Linked DNA regions of Homo sapiens: regions 1, 3, 4 and 5 are each linked to region 2. The links are contacts of gene promoters, found by promoter capture Hi-C in blood cells and fetal thymus (Javierre and others, 2016). All regions are on one chromosome and are shown on one strand. Each heading gives the region's core, a stretch centred on a gene start or on the middle of the fragment in contact. The rest is flanking DNA. Distances are from core to core; before and after follow the strand shown. Region 1 has its middle 39 kb from the start of LINC01911. Region 2 holds the start of ACVR2A (activin A receptor type 2A). Region 3 holds the start of KIF5C (kinesin family member 5C). Region 4 has its middle 100 kb from the start of LINC01911. Region 5 has its middle 19 kb from the start of LINC01911.

The links. Contacts are between HindIII fragments. The CHiCAGO score rates a contact against its expected background, and 5 or more counts as called.
Region 1: a fragment that was not itself captured here is called in contact with the fragment with the promoter of ACVR2A in region 2 in 1 of 17 cell types (endothelial precursors); the score reaches 6.9 in endothelial precursors.
Region 3: a contact is called between the fragment with the promoter of KIF5C here and the fragment with the promoter of ACVR2A in region 2, in 3 of 17 cell types (total B cells, naive B cells and activated CD4 T cells). The highest score is 10.4, in total B cells.
Region 4: a fragment that was not itself captured here is called in contact with the fragment with the promoter of ACVR2A in region 2 in 1 of 17 cell types (endothelial precursors); the score reaches 9.2 in endothelial precursors.
Region 5: a fragment that was not itself captured here is called in contact with the fragment with the promoter of ACVR2A in region 2 in 1 of 17 cell types (endothelial precursors); the score reaches 6.0 in endothelial precursors.

Annotation. Positions count from the first base shown.
Region 1 is chr2:146,796,882-146,799,581 of GRCh38, forward strand. No RefSeq gene overlaps it. Among named protein-coding and RNA genes, the nearest start is that of LINC01911, 39 kb to the right of the region's middle. The HindIII fragment of the contact is 2,808 bases long and covers 1-2,700 here.
Region 2 is chr2:147,843,596-147,846,295 of GRCh38, forward strand. It overlaps ACVR2A (activin A receptor type 2A), which reads left to right and starts at 1,434. Exons shown (of 11, transcript NM_001616.5): 1 at 1,434-1,612. The coding sequence starts at 1,558. RefSeq lists an enhancer at 1-534 and silencers at 661-850, 931-1,040, 1,796-1,875. The HindIII fragment of the contact is 3,923 bases long and covers 1-2,658 here.
Region 3 is chr2:148,873,879-148,876,578 of GRCh38, forward strand. It overlaps KIF5C (kinesin family member 5C), which reads left to right and starts at 1,349. Exons shown (of 26, transcript NM_004522.3): 1 at 1,349-1,865. The coding sequence starts at 1,740. KIF5C-AS1 (KIF5C antisense RNA 1) reads right to left here. Exons shown (of 4, transcript XR_001739733.2): 4 at 1-2,317. RefSeq lists a silencer at 1,173-1,642 and enhancers at 2,015-2,593, 2,594-2,700. The HindIII fragment of the contact is 10,493 bases long and covers 1-2,700 here.
Region 4 is chr2:146,732,154-146,734,853 of GRCh38, forward strand. No RefSeq gene overlaps it. Among named protein-coding and RNA genes, the nearest start is that of LINC01911, 100 kb to the right of the region's middle. The HindIII fragment of the contact is 1,128 bases long and covers 693-1,820 here.
Region 5 is chr2:146,817,701-146,820,400 of GRCh38, forward strand. No RefSeq gene overlaps it. Among named protein-coding and RNA genes, the nearest start is that of LINC01911, 19 kb to the right of the region's middle. The HindIII fragment of the contact is 2,230 bases long and covers 191-2,420 here.

The sequences.
Region 1 (2,700 bases), core at 57-2,556, 1.0 Mb before region 2:
CACCAGGGAAACATTTAAGTCACACAGGAGACCAAGGGAGAAAATGTTTAGTAGCAGATAGTCATATCTCAGGTATTCTGATAGGATCACATCTTGTGCTTGTCTTGTTTAAATACACTATATATTAGGATGTGTTATCATCTTTACTCCATATTATGATAAGTATGCCTTTTCTCTTGCTGCCAAATGCCACTGAGGCAATTCTTCTACTAGGAAGTTCCAATGTTAATTGCATTATTACTTATTTTTTATTGCTAAGAGTTATTTGCATTCATTATGTAGCTCTAACATATTCATGTTTTACATCACACTTTATTCATTTCCATGAATTTCCAGAAGAAAAAGAATTCACATCTATTATTGTTCAGTATTGCTGCATACTGCAAAGCCCAAATATGAGTTCATTCAATATCATATAATTAGGTAATTGGTGTTTTTCATGCTTTATATTCTGCAGAAATCCTTGGTAGATGTTATAAATGTGTCTAAGTATATCTTAGTGATATTTGGAGAATTGCTTAAGATTATGAGGTGGACTAGGAATAAATTACTTTCACATTTTCACATTTAAAAAATGTAAGATTCAATGCTTTTTCAGGAGCAGATTATATTCACATCTAATATTGGCCTTTATGATTAGCATTAGTCAAAAGACCTACCTAAATGTAATCAGTAAATTGTTATCTTAACAATACTGGTTTATTTGAGGACTTCTAATTGCTATTTATGTAAGACTGATAAACTCAGATGTTTAAAACTAATGTTTGGGTTCAAATCTTGCCTCTATCACTTACTAGCTGTTTGAATTGGGCAACTCAAATAATGTTTGTTTCTGATTTCCCTCATTGATAAATTAAGGATACTAGTATTACTTCATAGGCTTGTTATGACAATTAAATTAGTTAATATTTGAAAAGTGTTTAAATAGTGTCTGGCAAATAGTAATTGTGAAATGATAGCTATGAAGGAAACAAACCAGGAAAGTGAGACCATTTTAATAATATGAAAAACATTTTTTTAAATAAAGTGTTGCTTAAATTATTCAAAAGAGATTTACCGTTTCCTTTTCTAAGTGGAAGATAGGAGATACATAATGTAAGTTCAATAGACAAGGAAGGACCTGAGTTTATAAAAAACTTGGCTTGAGAACCTTATGGGGAAGCTACAAAATGCAGATATCCAAAATAATACAAGGAGGAATAAAAATATGTTGGCAGCGAGCTAATAGTTTGGTTACCAAGGTAACAGAGGTAAATTTAATTGAGCAGAAAATAATCATGCTACAAGTAGCCTAAAAGGATGCCATGCACTTCTCCTTTGAGTTTAGTTTGAGTAGAGTTTGTTTTAGAGGTTGAATGGTATAACACAAAAATGTTCCATTGCATCAACTCAGTACAGGTGAAGAACACTCTAAAATGAAATAGCTAGTTATTAAAAATATAAATTGTGACATTTTAGCTAAGTACAAAGCAAACCTTGACACTGGTGTTAGCAGAGTCAGGAAGAGCAGCACTGGTCAGCACTTCTTGCATAGAAACTAAACAGCATCTGAAGCCATGTATTCATTCAGCTGAAATGATGAGCATTCCTGGATGAGTTTAGGTTTGCCTTGATTCTTGTTTCAAATACAACTACTATACTTAATGTATTTTAAGAATAGATCATGTGAACCATGTGATTACAATATTTTCATTAAAATAACCTCAAAATAACTATATTGAGTATGTATGTTTTCAAATGCCTGCAGATTGCCTGGAAATCCTTGGTCGGCAATACTTAGCTACTAAATAAAATATGTTCACCGTCTAGTGCCGAAACCCTTTAACAGCCCACAAAACAAGCTGGATGTCTAGAGATGCACATTTCAGACCATGTGTCCAATATACTGCACAGCCTAACAATAGGACTTTTGTGACGAAGTAATATATTCTATTTATTTTGGCTACCTATGATAGACACTTTTATAATAGCCTTTTAATGCGATAGCTACCTCTAACAAAGAAGCTAAATATTTTGTAAACATATATGCCACAGGATTTGCTAATCTATGATGAAATATAGATTAGCAAATCAATCATATCATGAGCAGCTAAGACTTACAAGTAATAACTTGGATAATAACTTCTAATTCTCTTGCATCAAGTAGGATTACTTTAGAAGAATATGGTACAAATAATTTCAAGTAATAAGAAAATGTATTGTCTTTGAATCATGAGGAAACAATTCCCAGAAGACTTCTCTCATCTCATTGGCCACAACTGGTCACAGAGCTACCCCTAAAATAGTGATTCTCAAATCATGGTCCCTACCAGCATTGTCACCTTCACTAGGAACTTGTTAGGAATGCAAAATCTCCAACCTCATAAGACACCTCCTGAATCAGAAGGTCACGGTGGGGTCCAACAATCTGTATTTTAACAAGCTCTCCAAGTAATTTTGACATACATTGAAGTTTACAAACCACTAACTACCCTAATCCAATCACTAACAAAGGAAAGATTACTATGATGATTTAAACTATCAGAATATACAGCCAGAGTTGAGGATAAGGGCCTTTCCTGAGGAATTGAAAAAAATCAGTATTCAGTTGGCAAAGAAGATATCGGACAATGAGAATATGGAGGAGTGAGTGGATAATGTTGAGGAGGCAACAAATAATGTTTCCAAATTCCTTTTTCATCAAATGGTGTAATTCAGGAG
Region 2 (2,700 bases), core at 184-2,683:
CATCAAATATGTCGTTCGAAATCCTCATTTTTTTCTTCAAAGCGCAGTAAACAAGTATTTGCGCACCTATTACGTGCAAAACAGTTTTCAACACAATGCTTTGTGTGTAAAAGGAACGGCGGGAATGGATTCAAGTTGCGCATCGTGATAAATGGCGTGAATATCCTGAGCGGGTGGACAGCCCTTCCTCCGTGAGTTTTTTCTTTTTCTTTTCTAGTCACCAAGACAGCACGCGTGTGCAGAAGCTGCAGCGGTGGGACGCAGTGCTAAGTCTGGGGGCGCACACACCAGCTCGCGCGTCGCGAGCTCGCCTGGGCAGCTCGGCGGGCGCGGCGAAACAGCTCCCACGTCCGCCTTCCACCGACTCCTCGGTATCAGAGCGGACGAGGCGTCCCCCCAGAGGAAAGACTGGGCGCCGCAGACGCCCCTTGGAGAAGTCCCTGGCCACTCGCCCCACCTCGGGGTCCTCTTCCTCTTGGGCTTCTCCTGACCCTTTGGGTGGGCGCTCCAGACAGGCCCGTCGGACGCGATTTGGAAACGGGTCGTGCCCGGCCTAGCCCGCATCTACTCGCCCGGCCACAGCCCAGCCACAGCTTAGGGACTTTGAGGCGCCCGCGCCCCTTTGTCGCGGTATCTCTAGCCCAAGCAGGCCGGACGCCGAGGCCTCGCGGTATCGAGCCTCCGTCCGCCCCGCCTCCTCGCCCTCCACTCCGCCCCGCCCTCGCTCTCTCACCCCTCCCCCGCTCCCGCCTCGCTTCCCCGACAATCTCCTCGCGCTCCCGGCCCGGCACGCGCGCTGCGCCCGGCCGCCGCTGCCGCCGCCGCCGCCGCCGCCGCTGCCGCCGAGCGTTCCTCCGCTGCGCCTGGCTTCCAGCTTCGGGCCGGAACCGGAAGTTTGGGGGGCGGAGCCCGGCGGAGGCCAGGAGACCGAAAACGCGGCCGAGCCCGGAGCCCGGAGCTGGAGCCAGAGCCTGGACCAGAACTTGGCCGCCGCCTGCACCGCCGCCGCCGCTGCCGCCCGCCGCCCCTTCCCCGCGCCGCAGCCGCCTCGCCGCCACCGCCGCGAGCTCGGCCGCCAGTGGTCCTCGGACTTTAGGTGTCTGGGTTGAAGGTCGGTCCGGACATCGGACCCAGTCAGTTCCCAGACTGTCCGGGCGGCAGCGGACGCCGCTGCCGCCGCCGCCTCTTCGTCGCCTCAGCCTGGCGTTTTGTTCCGAGAGACGGGAGAGGCGAGCGGAGCTGACAGTGATTTTGACAGTGATTTAAACCCGCTTTTGTTGTTGTTGGCTTTTCGTTGTTTGGTTTTGTGTGTTGTGCGTGTGTGTGGCGGTTTTTCCCCCGTGGTGCATTTTATTTTTTATCGTTGTGCTCTTTTTTTTCTTTTTTTTTTTTAACCCAGTGAGCGTTTTTTTTTTTTTTTTTTTTTTTTTTTGGTCTGGGCTTCCGAATATGTTTTATGACGGTTGATTTTACACCAGGAGGTTTGTCTCCGAGGAAGACCCAGGGAACTGGATATCTAGCGAGAACTTCCTCCGGATTCCCCGGCGCCTCGGGAAAATGGGAGCTGCTGCAAAGTTGGCGTTTGCCGTCTTTCTTATCTCCTGTTCTTCAGGTAGGTGCAGGGAGCGCGGCGCGGTGGGGCTGCTCCTGCGGCCGCGGCGGCCGCTGCTGGGGGCCGCGGCTGGTGTTGAGTCGGAGAGTCCAGTGGAGCCTGGGGAGGTTGCCCACTCCCTGCGCCCCTCGGCTGCCACCGCCCCCCCCCCCCGCCCCCAGGTCTGATTGTGATCTGGAAACCTCCATGCATTTTTCTCTTTTTGAGTTGGGTCGGCGAGCTGATAAGAGTGAGTGCTGTGTTGTTGTGGAAGTGAGAAAGTCATGTTTTGTGGCCATAACACTGGATGACAGCGCTGGTTGGGTTGCAATTAAGCCGCAAATACCACAAGTGACAATTTATGCAAAGGTTGAGATCTGAAAGGAGTATTTAGTGTGGGCTCCTCCAAAACAAGGGTTGCTTTTTGTCATCGTTTAATTAGTGCTTCACCGGTGAATATCACGACATAGATCAAGCCAGTTGCTGCTTAATTTTGGCTGTGGGAAACAATACATCCTATCAGCAATTTAATCTGGGTCTCCCCTCACGTTTTCTTCAACTTCAGCGTCCAGCAGTGTTAAAAATAGTTGTAGTTGTTGTTGGAGTATTAACTATAACCCAGTGCAGAAGAGGTATGCCGCTTGGTATTGGTAATGTGCTGGCGTTCAACCACCATTTGTGTGCTCTTTTGGGGCATAGATTTTGCTTACCTACGGAATACTTATTTTAAACGCTTTGTATTGAAGCATTGTTTTCGGTTTAGAACAACCCATGTGAAATTGTTTTTGTTAAATATAGTACACTCATAAAATAGGTTTTAGCTCAAGGTTGGGGGAATAAACGGGCCATTTTATATTGGAAATTTTGATTTTGTGAGGACGTTCTATGGTTGCAACCAGTGGTTGGAAAAACTATCTAGTCTTTTGTATTTGAAATTCTATAAATAAATACAGCATCTAGCTGAAAGGTGTGCAGATGTACATAACAGGAGAGTTAGTTCAATAGATGAAACATTTTAAATAAGTCTCATTGGATCTATTTATTGTAAAATTTAATATTCAGTTACAAGCTTGTGGCATAGAATTACGGGGGACTCTTGGAAACGGGGG
Region 3 (2,700 bases), core at 99-2,598, 1.0 Mb after region 2:
CTCAGGGAAACTGAGAATTGGATTGTCCTCTCTAGTATATTATGAAGTTGATCATTTAAGATGATGGGTCTCTGAGCCAGAGCCTGAGAATTACTTAATTTAAAAACAGATGAGAAGGTGGCACCTGGGTCTTTTTAATCTACTTCCACTGCACATGAGGAGATGAAATAGAACTGGTACTACTTACAAGGGTTTATAAAAGTTGATTTTAGTAGGTCTGTCCTCTCAGCTAGGCAGAGAACACTTGTATTTTCAGGTATTACCCGAATTTAAGCAACAGATGTGTTCCTAAAATTAACTAACTTATTTGTTTTATGATCATTTGTTCAGCACCCAATAACATCTAACTTTCAAGAGCTTATCCTATATACATGTCAGGCACCGTGCTAGGTGCTTTAAAAGCATCTGTCTTTTAATTCCCCCAGAAATCACAAGATGATATTATTCCAATGACAGAGATGAGGAAACTGAGTCTTAAGGAAATTAAGACTTCTTAATTTCCTCCGCTCTTAATTTCCTCCGCCTGTTGGTCATACATCTAATAAGTGGCTGAGGTGGGATTCACACTCATGCATTGCTTCTTCCTAGGGTAGAATCCTTATTCAGTATGCTGCCCACTATGTGCTAGATGCTACAGACACAAAGATATCAAGCAGATATCACCACCCAAGTGCAGTGCTAGAGACAGGCACAGCAGATTAGGGGAACATCAAGGAGGGCCACCAACTCTTTATAGGTGTTTAGTGAGCTGGGAAAGTCTGAGGAAGGAGGGTTGAGCTAGGTCTTAGAGGAAAAGGAAGTTCTGGAAAAATAGAGTGGACACTCAGTTGTTCTGCCAGCCCGGCACCATGTCTGGGAATACCATCCCTCTTCTTTTGGGAACCTTCCCACCAAGGGATTCCTCCATAATCTTACAAAATCCCTGATTCTGGTTGATTGGTTTAGCACTAGATGCCAACCTAAACCAAGGCCAATCAAACCCAAACTCTGAACAGACATCCATCCTTATCTAGTGGTAGAAGTTGAAGGATGAAACCCAGGGGCTATTGGGAGCTGTTTCCCAAGTGATTTTCTTTTGGGATCAGGATGATCCAGACCCAGTTATCTAGAGATTTTAACCGGAAATATTGGATATGACCTCCATCCGGTTCCGGCTTGGGCAGCCAGACCGGACTTGCAGGCTCTTGGAGGTCGCATCCTGTCCTTCCCCCGGCAGGTAGAGTGACTACAAGTCCCGGGATGCGCAGCGCTCGGAGTCGGGCGGGGGCCGGGCGGACCTCTACGGTGACGTCACCGTCCCGGGGCGGGCCAGGGGAGGGCGGGGCGGAGGGGCGGGTCTCAAGGCGGCAGAGCGCGCTGGTGCTGATGCAGGATGGCTGAGCGCGCAGGAGCCCGGGAGGTCTGAGCCGGGCGAGGCTCGCTCCCTGCGCATCGCCTCCTCCGCCCGCCGCGTGGTCGCGGGCAGGTGGGCCGGGGGGCGCTGGGCAGGGGCGGGGCAGGGCCAGGGCAGGCCGGTCTGCAGCCGGAGGGGCCGGAGCGGAGAAGCTGCCCACCTTCCCGGGCTCGGAGCGGCCGGGGCTGCTCAGCCGGCCGGGCTCGCGATGACCTGCTGAGAAGCGTCGTCGGAGGCTGCAGGAGGCGGCCTAGCTGTGGGCGGTGCAGCTCGCGGCCTCCTCCCTCGTCGTTCCCGGCCCCGGCCCCCCACCCATCCCCGTGCCCCCTCCCTACCGCCGGCCGAGATGGCGGATCCAGCCGAATGCAGCATCAAAGTGATGTGCCGGTTCCGGCCCCTCAACGAAGCGGAGATCCTCCGCGGGGACAAATTCATCCCCAAATTTAAAGGCGATGAGACCGTGGTGATCGGGGTAAGTGGCTGGGGCGTCTGCCTTCCCTGCTGCTCCGCGCCGCAGCTGGGCGCCCCGACGCCCCAGACGCAGCGGAGGTGTTTAGGCCGCCCCCTCGGACATTCCCGCGGGGCTGGCCTCTCGGGTGGACCTGACCAGAGACCCCTCGCCCCGCGCACTATGGTTCCCTCCCGGGCGGGTGGAGAGGCGGCCGGGAGCGGCGGGCCGGGCGGGGGTGGCGGGGGTGGGGATGGGGGGCGAAGACGGGCTCGGCGCCGCCATTGTTCGCCGGGTGGGGGCCCGGGTGGGCCCATTGTTCCCCACGCTCGCCTCGCCGCGTGGGTAGTGTGTTCGGGTGACCCTCAAGCCGGGTGCCCAGGCCCCCTTTAAAGTGTGAGCTCTGCAACCCGCAAATGCTTCTGGGCATCAATCAATTCGATTTACCAAACGCCTTGCCTCTTCTTCTCACGACCCTAGCAAAAAAGAAAGAAAAAGGGGTACAGGAAAATTTCTAGTCGCGTCTCGGAGCTCCCGCGGCAGTGTAGACGCGGCTCCCCGCGGTGTTACACCTGGCTCCGCGCGCGGAAGGCGGAGGGTTGGGGGAGTACTGGTGGCCTCGGTGTCCCCTGGAGGCCTGGTGTGTCTCCCGCTTCCTCTCACGCCTGGCTGCCCTGGATGTGGAGTCCCGGCTTGATCCCTCCCCTCTGGGATGACCTCCCTCCCATGTCTGCAGACCCTCTGATGCGCCTCACGCTGGGTGGAGAGGAGGCTGTGTCCACATCTGTGGGGCGAGGGGGCTCAGAGCGCAGTAGCCCCCTGTGCCAAGAGCAGAAGTTACTTCGTGCGGCTCGGACCC
Region 4 (2,700 bases), core at 7-2,506, 1.1 Mb before region 2:
CTGAATGGAAAGATAATAAATAAATAAAATAAACTCACATATTAAACTGATTAATTCAATAATTTTATTTATTTATTTATTTTTGCTTTTGGCTGAGTTATGTCAAGTAAAAATTTTAGAAGAATGTCCGGACTGTATAACTCCTGAGCCTCATATATTTGAAAATGTCATTGCCTTGCCTTAGGTCAACTACATGCTGTGTAGCTAAAGAATTCTCAGTTTATACCATCAACTGTAGATTTTCTTGTTCTTAGTCATTATCAATGTTTTTTTCTCATACATGGTGATATCAATCATTTGTATTGTTGGATTCAAATCCTCAATAAACTTTTATCTTATTCAAATTCTTCATGAATCTTCTGTATGACTATCTTCATTATTATAGTTTTCTTAGGCTTTCTTATTTTCTTGATTTGTTATTTATAGCACTGATTATGATGATAATCATGATATAATGATAATCAATATTATAATTCATGTGATAAATACTATTAAGCTATTTATTACTATTAAAACACTGAAAGCACCTCCAAATTTTTAAAAACATGGCCAAAGAAATGTTGATCCTTACATGAGCATATATATATATACTATTAATAGGGTGTATATATTATTATGAGTTTCATTTGTATTATACATTTACATGAGTACATATATACATGAGTATATATATACTCTTTAGAGTATATATAAGCTTTTTAGAAATTTGATCCAACGGGTCGGTGGTACAAGATACCAGCAACTGTTATATATATTCATATACTAGAGTTTTGAACATTTGATTAACAGAAAAATTTTCCTGGTACAATGTCAAAAGATATAAATATATATATACAATATGATTACAAGTATAAACGTGTATATATATTCATATATATTTTCTCTATATACATTGTAATTATTTGTAAAGATATTCTTCGCATGAATGAAAATACTGAATTCAAACACACCAAACACACACACTTGTCCATTATCCCAAGGACGTGTGGGAAGGAGAGGTTCTAACAGGTGACATACTTTTCTCTCTTTAATTGTTACTATATTATTTATAATGAGCACATGCCTCTTGCTTATATTGAAATGGTATTAATAAAAAGCAAATCTATATTATAACTATTAAAAAAAACCTTTAACTATGGGGTAAGTGACATTTGTCAAAGAAAGAAAATATCCAATAGAAAAAAACAAACGCAAATGCTTTTAAAACCACAGCAAAGTAACACTTTTCCAAGAAGGATACAATTTTTGAGAAGTCACTGTGTAATCAGATTAACTTCTGTATACACTGGGAGAAGGGAGGTATATGTTAAGTGAACTCCCCTCCTTATATAACAGTCATGGCCAATTATGACACTGAAATAGCATTTTATTTTAAATGATTTATCAATTTCACTGTAAGCATTCACAATTATTCCCTTACATTATTGTACATTTTAATCAAGAGTGCATATTTAACTCCAACATTCTTTTGTCTAGTAGGGTTACTGTTATTCTTTCAGCTGGAGTTATTGCTTCTGTTTTTTAGAAGGTCTGGTATTCCCCAAACAGCAGTAAAGTGAGCAGGATATCTGCCTTCTACAGAAATGTTTTTCATTCATAGGACTTCATGCTCAAGTTCAGGGCAGTTTCATTTATGGGAAAAATTATTTTTATTGTTGTTCTGAATCACTTAGTGTTTATTCAAAATTTCCCTAAATCTCAGAATATTCTTGATATTTATGACTTTGGAGCATAATGAAATTATTCCCACGGTCCAGGAAAACCACTAGACTAATAATAGAATGCTGTGTTTGTGTGCTGATGAGCTCTGTGTCCCCAGAAGCTTAATTTGGTGTAGTCATTTATTATAACTTAACAGAAACATTGATATAGGTTTCTTGACTCAATAAAGGAAGCCACAGTTATTGGAATATGAAAATATACAGTGGGAATGTATTAATTTTTGCACATGAATGTCTTCTTTAGGTTTAATAAAGTTGCTCTAAAAGCTCTTTAGAAATATGATGCAACGGGTTGGTGGTACAAGTTACCAGCAACTATTAGCTTGTGGTTGCTCAACACATACAATATAACAGCAGAATATTTGTAGCATCATATTACCACATGAGGGTGCTATCTCCCCAAAAATGTTATCTGTAAAGTGAGCCGACCACCGCTAGGAAAGATTGTTTTGCTATTTTTTTCCGTATACATTTTGGAAGACAAGAAATGATTTGTTAGAATAAACACATTCTGTAGGAAAAAAATAAATAAAATAAAAGTCTCAGCCTTAACACCAAAGGACTAATACTCTTTCTATAACTATATAGTATGAATCAGGCATACAAAAGATACCTTTGATTTAAAAATATGGATCTACATGAAGGTTTATAAGTGTTAGGCAAAGCGTGATCCATGGACGACCTATACTGTAGTAGTAGAGAGACATTAGAGGTTCACGCTCATTAAATAAGCATACCTCTGTGCCTTACTCTGACCTACAAAATCAGAATATCTACAGGTCAGCCCCAGTAATCTTCATTTTTATGTTGCTCCTCAGGTAATTCTCATGCGTTTTAACATTTAAGAAGCACTGGTATGAAGTCATTTTAAAATTGTTATTCTTGTAAACATTGACCCACTTGAATGTTTAAACCCAATAAACTAGGTGATTCTTTGACAACCATGTCATCAACTTTTGCAAGCAGTTCAATCATAAGG
Region 5 (2,700 bases), core at 56-2,555, 1.0 Mb before region 2:
TTGTTCAACCAAGGATGACAAACTGACACAGAATAAATAGGATCAGTGTTAGTAAGCTGTTAAGCACTGCTGTTTCTCTCCTCTGTCTCTTGCTCTCTCTCATACAGCCTCCTCTAGGCATCATACTGTTTCAAGAACAAAGAAATGCCAAATACCAATTAACAAGCTAAACCTGATTCACACGTAAACAAGCTTGGGCTTGTATTTTTATGAAAAGTACTGACAAAATTAGTTTTGAAAATATTTAACTCCTATTGATTTAATTTTTAGATGTCTCATTACTAAGGCCTTCTTGTCCCTCCTATAAATCTGGTATCTGGACTCACTTTTCTCAGAAGAGGTATGGTTTTCTTCTTTGAGAGAAAAACAAAAGCATAAGTGGCTTTAGTTAAGCATCACTATCCAGCCCATTATTTTATCATAGCTGTGGTAATTAATACAGACTAATCTGCTTCTCTTCATGGTTCACACTTAACCATTTTTGTATTTTATTTGTTCATCAAATATATTTCCACAAAATACAGTTTGATTTGGATTTATTTGCCACCAATTTGAGAAATCAGTGTCATTCTTCACTGCTGTGAAATAGTATGTGAATAACTCATTTTCAGCTTTAAAATGCATCAGTGAGTCATGGAGGCTCATAAGAACCCTTTGACATAGTTTCCTGGAGAATTCTGAAAAATTTCATGTCTATTCTGAAGTGGCAACCTAAATCACTATTTCTTTTCGAGAAGTGCTTCCCAAACTTTAGTGTACATAAGAATCATCTGAGAGCTTGTTGAAATGCAGATTCCTGGGCCCTGCTTCTTGAGGTTCTGGTTCAGGAAATGTCGTGTGGTGCCTGAGATTTTTACATTTCCCAGATCAAGCTGAGGGATCTACTACCCTGGTACAGCTTCTGCCTCAGTCTCCTGGAAACACTGTTCACATGTCCTTTTTTTTTGTTTTTGTTTCTGTTTATTTTTTTGAGACAGAGTCTCCCTCTGTCACCCAGGCTGGAGTGCAGTGGTGTGATCTCAGCTCACTGCAAGCTCCACCTCCTGGGTTCACACCATTCTCCTGCCTCAGCCTCCCAAGTAGCTGGGACTACAGGTGCCTGCCACCATGCCTGACTAATTTTTTGTATTTTTAATAGAGACGGGGTTTCACCGTGTTAGCCAGGATGGTCTCGATCTCCTGACCTCGTGATCCGCCTGGGCCTCCCAAAGTGCTGGGATTACAGGCGTGAGCCACTGTGCCCAGACAACCACATGTCCTTTTAAACATACACAATACATGGATACGAAGTTCCAACCTTGCACATAGTAAAAAGGGATATTTTGCCATTTCACTGTCATCATTAACTATGTTACATAAAATAGATGTTCAGGAAATGATAGCGCGGTAGTTTCTATCACATGCATCACATGTTGATCCCTTCCCTCTGTAATTATGCCCAACTGAAAAGTTGTGCATTTGTACAAGAGAAAGCAATGACTTGTGCAGGAAACAAACTACTATAGAGCTTCATCGGTATTAAAATGTACATGTGTTTGTGAATTCTCATTATTAACTATAACTGTCCACAAAGCTCCAGTGACTCAGCTCTTCATCTCTAACATTTTGCAGACTGAATTGTTAGGTCTGTGGACAGACCTTTGGAGGATATAAGACAGCACGAATAAATAGTTAATATAGTATAAAATATAAATTATCTGTAGGCCAATTAAGGTCATGAACATTTTAGGGAGAAGGGCTTTAGGAGCCATGGCTTTAAGAACACCTCATATATCCTACGAAATGGTGATAGACAGCAATCAATTCGCTTGTAATCTAGCAAGGTATTAAGAAGTTTGAGCTTTCTGAAAGAGCTGAATGATAAGAGAGGTTTGACTAATGTTGGGAAAAGAAGCATGTCTTTTGCTTTGGAAAAAGAACCAAATTATTATGATCATTCTCCATTTATCAGTAAAATATTTTTTAGCACACACATGCTAATATATGCATATTTACTTATTTCTAAGTATTTATGCTCATCATTATAATCTATACATACTTTATACATAAATATTTCAAACGACACACTACAATATACATTTGGAAAATTGAGATAAAGATTAAATTTAAAAATTTGTCTTACCAATATCTGCATATTATCATTAATTCAAAGCAAAAAGCATAATTTACAGTTAAAGAAAGGGTTATCATTAACAATATTAAATGTGAATCCATTATTTAAGTGGACTTACTGATAATTTTAACTTTTTGGAAGAAAATGTGTCAATATAAATAGATAACATTTTCTTTAGTCTCCTAATGTGGCTTAATGCCCATAGTAGAAGTAGGGTAAATATTAGCTGTGCATTTTTTTGTTCTCTGCCTGTTCTTGTATTATTATATTACATTCAAGTGGTGGTTTCTTTGCTGGAATCTTTTTAAGCTTTCCATCTAAACCCTAGTTGGATATTTTCTCTTTTTCCTTCAACTTTCTTAGCACTCTTGATATGTGTATCATTTCTTTAGTCAATGATCAGTTACAATCTATAGATTCTTGGTTATCTATTTTTTTTTTTTTTTTTTTGAGACAGAGTCTCGCTCTGTCGCCCAGGTTAGAGTGCAGTGGCGCGATCTCAGCTCACTGCAAGCTCCGCCTTCCGGGTTCACGTCATTCTCCTGCCTCAGCCTCCCGAGTAGGTGGGACTAAAAGCGCCTGCCACT